2 separate regions of the Homo sapiens genome follow, and region 2 is linked to region 1. The links are contacts of gene promoters, found by promoter capture Hi-C in human tissues and cell types (Jung and others, 2019). All regions are on one chromosome and are shown on one strand. The core of a region is centred on a gene start or on the middle of the fragment in contact, and the rest is flanking DNA. Distances in the headings are between cores, read along the strand shown. Region 1 holds the start of PRPF39 (pre-mRNA processing factor 39). Region 2 has its middle 5.0 kb from the start of DORIP1.

The links. The method cuts DNA at HindIII sites, captures the fragments that hold promoters and counts their contacts. A contact is called where the count stands out against the background at its distance.
Region 2: a fragment that was not itself captured here is called in contact with the fragment with the promoter of PRPF39 in region 1 in 1 of the 25 tissues and cell types used here (dorsolateral prefrontal cortex).

Annotation. Positions count from the first base shown.
Region 1 is chr14:45,081,626-45,085,880 of GRCh38, reverse strand. PRPF39 (pre-mRNA processing factor 39) reads right to left here and starts at 1,765. Exons shown (of 14, transcript NM_017922.4): 1 at 1,632-1,765. It overlaps PRPF39-DT (PRPF39 divergent transcript), which reads left to right and starts at 1,855. Exons shown (of 2, transcript NR_184211.1): 1 at 1,855-2,409; 2 at 2,494-2,833. RefSeq lists a silencer at 1,771-2,060. The HindIII fragment of the contact is 8,045 bases long and covers 1-3,270 here.
Region 2 is chr14:44,890,106-44,894,360 of GRCh38, reverse strand. No RefSeq gene overlaps it. Among named protein-coding and RNA genes, the nearest start is that of DORIP1, 5.0 kb to the left of the region's middle. The HindIII fragment of the contact is 5,271 bases long and covers 1-4,255 here.

The DNA.
Region 1 (4,255 bases), core at 516-3,015:
TTTCATAAACACAGCAATATATAAAAATCTGAAGTCATCACTAAAGACTGAAAGGAGTTTTGGGTAGAGCAAAACAAGTAGCTTTGCAATAAGCAAATCTCATCCACAAGGCAATCTGGAGATTTGGGATGTAAGAAGAAAAGAGACTATCATAACCACTGGTTTTGGCAGCTGTTTTTAAGGGCTAAGTAGTCACACGCCGACTTTTTAAAGTCTCTACATATTAAACACTGTGTTCCAGAAACTAGATTTTGTATATGTATTTACATAAACGTCTACATCAATCTTCGGCTTTTTGGAAAACGTACCATTTGGCTGGAACTACACTACCTTCTTCCTCCTTCGGCTATTTTTAATTTTTTTTGAAGTCCTATCTTCCATGTAGATTTGTTAAAACATACCACAGAAAACAGCACATACAATTTTTATCATTTGACTTTTAAACATCTTCTTTCTTATTCAATTATAAGCAAGGAAAAATATTCTGAGACTTTACACAAATAGTGTCTCATACCACCTATGAGCCATCTATGCTCAACCCCTACTTCAAAGTTCACAATCTAAGTACTAGTCCTCTTTAACAGAACTCCTTTCCATCACTTTATCCCTACTAGAGAGTGAACAGTGGAAAGTTCCAACTTTTGCAACTCTAGAATGAGGTTATAAATCTAGAGGGAGGAGGAAAACCTGACAGTAGACGCTTGTTCTTTTCACTCCATTCAAGCTCCCATACAGCCTAAAACACTTAAGTTTCAACATGAGCTTCATACGTCCCTGTCCAAAACTTGCTTTCTCAAGCCTCACGCTTTCCAGCTGTAGCAAAGTTTATTTCTGAACAGATTAAATCAGTTGCTAAATAATCTGAAGTCCTCAAACAGAAGGCCATATGAGTATCAAACGAAAAAAACAACATTTGAATCAGCATAAATTCACATGGTATTATGGCATCATTACTAATACACTGAGCAGTATTATTTATTAACTTCAAGTATTAATTAACTTAAAGATGTGATTTTGGAGAAAAACACCAGTGGTGGTCTCTGATTACCAAAGTTAAACATTCTTAAGCACAATCCCTTAAAAAATCCTGCCAGGATCAATGATGTGTTTTTTCTGTTTTAAAGTATCCTGCCAAAAGCTGTGGGTGCTGTGACTTAGGGTCGCAAAAGTGTTGCTTATGTAGTCAGAAGACAGAACGTGCCCTACAAGGCGCTCACATGCCTTAGTAATAGAACGTATATTATCTTCCCAATCCTCTGGCGGCTGCAAATGTGCTCCTTCCACTTCCAGCCACCCCAGCCGTGTTCCAGCTCCGGGAGAAGCAAGGGCTTTAGAATTACCCCCAAATATCTTCCTAAATCCAGGCGAAGGAGGCCCACACTTCTCCACCCTACCTAACGCACCCCTCAAGTGAAACGTTTGGTCTAAGAAAAAAATACCTTGCACCGCTCCACCCAACAGGTGGGAAGGAGAAAGGAATGGACAGCTGAGCGCTGAATCCGAGCCAGGCCTCAAACAGGGCGGGAGAGGGAGGCCGCGGCCAGAGCGCGGCCTGAAACCCGGCAGGCCCCTTTCAGTACCAAGTACCACCCTCTGCCCCAGCTAATTTCAAGGAGCCCGCCCCAGCAGACCTTATGATGGATGCCACTTGATGCCATGAGCCGGAGCCTGTGACGACCTAGCCGAAGATGGCACTTCACCGCCTCCGTCCCCACAGCCAGCACAGCAGCCGCCACCCGCGCCACGGCCGCCTGGTCCAGGGCACGATGCGCATGCGTCAGTGTCCCTGGAGGCGAAAAAGTCACGTGGGTTCGCAGCGCGCAGGCCTGGCCCTCCCAGGGATCCTCGCTGCCCGTGCGGCCCCAGCCCCGCCCCCGCAGCCCCGCCCCGCCCCGCCGCGAGCGAGGGCGGGGACCGCTGCGCCTACCTGCCTTTCCCTCCATAGGGACTTCCCAAAGGAAAGGAGGGCGTTTAGGGGCTTTCACACGCCTGATCTTAAACACAGCGCCCTGACCCCTCCCCACCAAAAACGGCAAAATGTCATTTTTGGGGGCAAATCTAAGGTTTTCCCTACAATTGTTCAAGCTTTCACACTAAAACATTTACCTAAAAACGGGCAGAAATTCAGCCTTAAACCCACAAATCTCACGATGGTATAGACCCTGGGCCCACTCAGGTTTCCTGAAAACTAAACAGTTCTGGAGTTAGGGGTTTGGAGAACGGGCTATTGTTAAAGAAAAAAGTATTTAGTGACACTTGTTAAAGCACAAAAAGAGGGCTTTATTCAGGACCATCGCAACAGGTATAGGGACCACTGACTGCAATGGAGACTTGCAGTAGGGAAAGAGATATTGGGCTCAACTCCTCATACAGCATGGGCAAGTGGAGATTTATAGCCAAGGAGCGGTGGTAAGTGAATGTATAATTACTAAGAGGAAACATCAGGGTAAGGGGGATTTTGGCTAAACCCACCTAATAGGATTTTTGCTGAAGACAGGCCAAGATAATGAGGCATCACCTGGGGGATGGTGGAGACTGAAGAACCTGATCAGATATTGAGGATGATCAGCTATCAAGGATGGGGGTTTATTGCTAATCTGACTTAGCAAAGTTCTTTGCTTAAACTGGATTTTACAAAGAAAGTGTACAGAAGAGCCTAGCAGAAGATTCAGAAACCTGACTAAAGTTGGCCAAGCAAAAAAAAAAATCTTTGTATCTGAAGGGATATGTTATCCTCTGGACAAATTGAGGGGGACTGTGCGTTAACAATCTTAGCAGTCCTCTTCAGTTGTACCACCATCTCCACTTTAATAAAAAAAAATTTTCTTTCAAATCTGGCCTCTCTCCCTTTAAGATTCTGTTACATTGGTGCCCCCGCATTCACCTGTCACTTACCATGTAATCTGTTGTTCCAGGTGCATTAGTATTACTACTGGGCTCCAAGTTCCTCATCTGAAATCTGTCTCCTCTGGAAATACTTATTTACAAGACGACGTTTCTTGTCACAACGCAGGTTAATCATAAATCCTCTCACCAGCACCTTTCGTTCGAAATACCAAATTCAGTCTTTTTTCCTACCTTTTACTTGCATCACACTGCACCTAGTAGTAGCTTTCCCTTTCCATTTGCCTCTTCTACTTTCCAAGCTAACTTTTTTGGATTCTCTGACAGTGTGGCCATGTTTTTTGTTTGTTTGTTTCACAGGTTTAAACAGCAGCTTTTAAATGTTTACTGTGGGAAGAATAGTCAAGGGAGTGGTGCGTTGGGAAGACAGACCAGAGTTTGCTGCTGGCACTGTTACGCAGGGACTGTTTGGCATGACCTTCACTCCTTTTCTGGTTCTTTGGTCTTTCTAAGGTGGCCTCAATTTCTTTATCAGTAAATAAGATTATCTCTGAGATGTCATTCACTCAAATAGCCATTTTATAAAAATCTACTTGCATCTTCAACTTCATTCACTGTGGATTCGTTGTTTTCCTTTATCTAGTTTTTACATTTTACCTTTCAAGCCGGTGCTATTGCTCTCACTCCCCCGCTTAAAAACCTCCACTGGTTTCCTCCTCCACTTTTTTTTTTTTTTTAAAGAAATCCTAAACTTTTAGAATGGAAAATACGGTGTTTTCATAATCATGCCAGCCTTCTCACTGTTTCTGCCTCCCCGTAACTCCACAGAACCTACTGTTCCCACAGCCCTTTTATGCGTGGAAACCTTTAAGTGGGCTCTTCTCTTTGCCTAAAATGTGATCCCCGCTGGCAGAAACATACATTATCTTAAAAACTGATTTAGCCGGCAGGGCGTGGTGGCTCATGCCTGTAATCCCAGCGCACTTTGGGAGGTCGAGGCGGGGAGATCATGAGGTCAGTAGTTCGAGACCAGCATGACCAACATGGTGAAACCCCATCTCTACTAAAAATACAAAAATTAGCTGGGTGTGGTGGCGCACGCCTGTAATCCCAGCTACTCAGGAGGCTGAGGGAGGAGAATTAATTGAACCCGGGAGGCAGAGGTTGGAGTGAGCCAAGATGGTGCCACTGCACTCCAGCCTGGGAGACAGAGTGAGACTCCATCTCAAAACAAAAACAAAAGACAAAAAAAAAAAAAATTGATTTACCCTTAGTTGACTTTTTTAAAATTGTGTATCACAATTATAAACTTTGGGAAGAAAAAAGATATTATACCAAATAATGTAGTTTAGAGGGTAGTGGTGTGTCCAGAATTGGTGGGTTCTTGGTCTCACTGACTTCAAGAATGAAG
Region 2 (4,255 bases), core at 893-3,392, 190 kb after region 1:
ACGCCATTCTCCTGCCTCAGCCTCCCGAGTAGCTGGGATTACAGGCACCTGCCACTGTGCCCAGCTAATTTTTGTATTTTAAGTAGAGACGGGGTTTCACTGTGTTGGCCAGGCTGGTCTTGAATTCCTGACCTCAGGTGATTCACCCGCCTCAGCCTCCCAAAGTGCTGGGATTACAGGTGTGAGCCACTGCTCCCGGCCTTCTACTAGTCTCAATAAGTCCTCTTTAGAATTCAAATTATAATGCTCAGTTACATTACTAGTAAACTATTTTTAATCTCATTTTTCCAAAAGCTGAATTTTTGCTTTAAATCTATAAACTTTGTTGGTAGATGTTTAAAAAGGTCCAGACTCCACCACAACAGATAATCCAGTAATTATCCTGGGATGTAAAAATATCTGAAAAGATGAGAGGAAGACATTGATATCTGAACTTAAAGTTACAGAGCCTGTTTGGAGAGGCTATGTGACAGACACAACCAGCCCATAATTACCCCTCAATGAGAGGCCTTGAGAAAGAAATATCCTGATATCACTTTTCTCCTCCCTCTGATATAATGATGTGTTGTCATTATTTCTATTATTGTATACCGTTTGAAAGTGACACATTTTCTATCGCCCTTGCTTTGTTGATTGACAGTTCTGACAGTTTCCATGCTGGTTGACAAAACAAGTGATTCTGCAGTTGCATAAAGTTACATCTATTTTACTCCTGTCATTTGTGCTGTGCTTGCTGTACATTTTTACTGCTATATGGGAATTTAAGAAATAATTTTAAAGTGTTTATTATTATTATTAATTTATTTTTTGAAACAGAGTCTCACTCTGTTGCCTACCACACTGCAGCCTCATCCTCCCAGGCTCAAGGGCTCCTCCCACCTCAGCCTTCCAAGTAGCTGGGACTACAGGTGTATGCTACCATGCCCGGCTAATTTTTTTTGTATATTTTTTGTAGAGAAGGGGATTCACTCCATTGCCCAGGCTGGTGTTGAACTCCTGGACTCAAGCGATCTACCCAACTCGTCCTCCCAAAGTGTTGGGACTACAGGGATGAGCCACTGCGCCAGGCCAAATGAAAAAATAATTCATACTATCTTTGTTACCAGTCTTAAAATTTAAAATATACCCCATTTTATTTCATTTTTTTGAAACTTATCCTTTAAAAAATTGGTTTAAAGTCTTATTTTTCTGTTGGGTCTCATGTTCTTGGTAAAGTGGTCGTTAGATCAAGTTTGATGTACACAAATACCATTTATCTGTCTATCCTAGTACATTTGCTGAGCTCCCATCATGAACTTTGAGTCCCTGAGGATCTTGAAGTTAAGAAGGTTCCTGCTCTAGAAAATATGTAAGCTGTATAAACAACAATAACAATGAGGAAGGGCATGAAAATCTAATTTCTGTAACTCAATTCAATTCAGTCGATCTCATAGCCTTATTATCTGGGGAAAAATCAGAACACATAGGCCCTAAATTTAGTCATAAACTTTAGTCTAGATATATTTTCCAGAAGAAAGGGGTAGTCGTGGGGACTTAGCCCCAGAAGCAGCTGTCACTTGCCATTATATCAGACTCTGTTGCATTAAGCTTTCCAAAAATAGAATTCACATCTTCAAATTCCCGTATTCCTTTGGGTATCCCCAACAGACTTTTCCCCCAGTGAACAAACATTATGTTCTTACTTTTGACAATCATTTCAACTGTGATACAGGAATTTGGTTCTAAAAATTCAGGGACAGGATCAGCTCTTTCCAGCCCCTTCTAGCTCTAAATCTTAGGAAACAGTGGGTGCCACTTTTTCCCAATGTGAAGCCACATGGGCTGGGTCCTTTTTCTCCCTCAGATCACAGAAAGTAAAGTAAGCAAATAAGGGAAAAATCAGACTTTAGTTCACTAAAAGTGTTCTTTTTATTTGCCGACATGTTTAGTATTTCTGGTGCTCTTTATTCCTTTGCATATATCTAAGTTTCCCTCTGCTATCACTTCACTTCACTTTGAAAAAACTTGGTTTAACGTTTTCTGTAGTGCAGTCTGCTAGGATGGTTTTAAAAAATGGCTGCACACTCTTTTACATTGTTTCCATTGAGACATTGGGTCTTTGTTCCTTCTTCTTGAATCTGGGTAGACTAGTAGCCTTTGACCTACAGAGTACAGCAAAAATGAAACTCCGTGGCTTCTGAGGCTAGGTCATAAAAGAACATGCAATTTCTGCCTTATTCACTTGAATACTTGCTCTTAGAGCCCTGAACCATGATGTGAGAAGACCCCTATCCTGGAGAGGCTATATTCTGGTCAGCTGAGCAAGCTGAGCCCAGCCTTCTAGTCATTCCTGCCACAATGCCAGATATATGAGTGAAGGTCTCCAGATCCTCCAGACTTCCCATTCAGCAGATAAATACTGCTGATGACCTCCCTTGATACTAAAAGGAGTAAAATGCAAATCAAAACCACAATGAGACACCATCTCACACCAGTCAGAATGGCAATCATTAAAAAGTCAGGAAACAACAGGTGCTGGAGAGGATGTGGAGAAATAGGAACACTTTTACACTGTTGGTGGGACTGTAAACTAGTTCAACCATTGTGGAAGTCAGTGTGGCGATTCCTCAGGGATCTAGAACTAGAAATACCATTTGACCCAGCCATCCCATTACTGGGTATATACCCAAAGGACTATAAATCATGCTGCTATAAAGACACATGCACACGTATGTTTACTGTGGCACTATTCACAATAGCAAAGACTTGGAACCAACCCAAATGTCCAACAATGATAGACTGGATTAAGAAAATGTGGCACATATACACCATGGAATACTATGCAGCCATAAAAAATGATGAGTTCATGTCCTTTGTAGGGACATGGATGAAATTGGAAATCATCATTCTCAGTAAACTATCACAAGGACAAAAAACCAAACACCGCATGTTCTCACTCACAGGTGGGAATTGAAGAATGAGAACACATGGACACAGGAAGGGGAACATCACACTCTGGGGCCTGTTGTGGGGTGGGGGGAGGGGGGAGGGATAGCATTAGGAGATATACCTAATGCTAAATGACGAGTTAATGGGTGCAGCACACCAACATGGCACATGTATACATATGTAACTAACCTGCACATTGTGCACATGTACCCTAAAACTTAAAGTATAATTAAAAAAAAAAGATCACCCAGCTGAAACCTGCCCAAATCTCTCATTCTCTTAATCATGAGATATAATAAAATCATTATTGTTCTAAGCAACTATTTTTTGAAGCCCATTTATACATCATTAGATAAGTAGAACAGAATTTGGGGTGCCATTGTAATAAAAACCTAAAACATGAGCATTGCCTTTCGGACAAGATGTAAGGAAGAACTTGAAAGAGCTTTGAGGAGACTGTTAGTAGAATCCTGACAGGTATTGAGGAGGATGTCAATGAGGGCTTCAAGGAAAGTAAGGAAAATGTTATTGGAAGCGAGAGGAAAGGAGCCCCTTGTCATGTCATGGTAGATGGTTTAGCAAATGTGATAACATAGCAAATAGAAAATGTATTTAATGAACTGCTGTATCTGGCTTAGAGTACCAGGAAGAACTTTGAAAGTATCAACTGTTTTTTGTTTGTTTTTGAACTAGGTATCATAACATCTGGCTAGACAAATCTACACTAAATATTCAATTTTCAAACAGAATTTAGAAGAATTATGTAGGAACTAGATCTGAAAATGAAACTATTTCTTGTTGTTATTTTCTCCCAGCAGAAGATGCTCAAAGTAAGATAGAGCTGCAGGGCAAAGATCAAATCCTAAGGTCTTATTAGAAAAACATGAGTTCAAGGTAGACCTGAGTTCAAGGTAGACCTAAGTCCAAGGATGTGATTGAAAGCCTTTTGTTAAGAGTTCAGAAACAGATAAAAGACCTTGTAAGATTCTGTTAACTTAAATTCATGAGATGTACAAAGTTAGAAAAGAGAGTTTTATTTCTTATAAAGGGTTGCAGTTTGCAGGCTGGACATCCTGACAGGCCAGGAAGCACAGCCTCCAGCAGAGACAGAAAGCAAGCACTTAGAGGGAGGAAAGGGTGGAACAGGGATTTATGCCAAATGGGTTAGCTAAGTATACATAATCAACAGGTTATAGGAGGAGCTATGGATATTCACAAAGCGAGGCATGCAAGCATAGTAAGCAAACATGCATGTTACATGCATCCCATGTTCACTTTAGGGTGGAGACTTAACATTTAAATGCATTATTGAGTTGGGCCTCATATG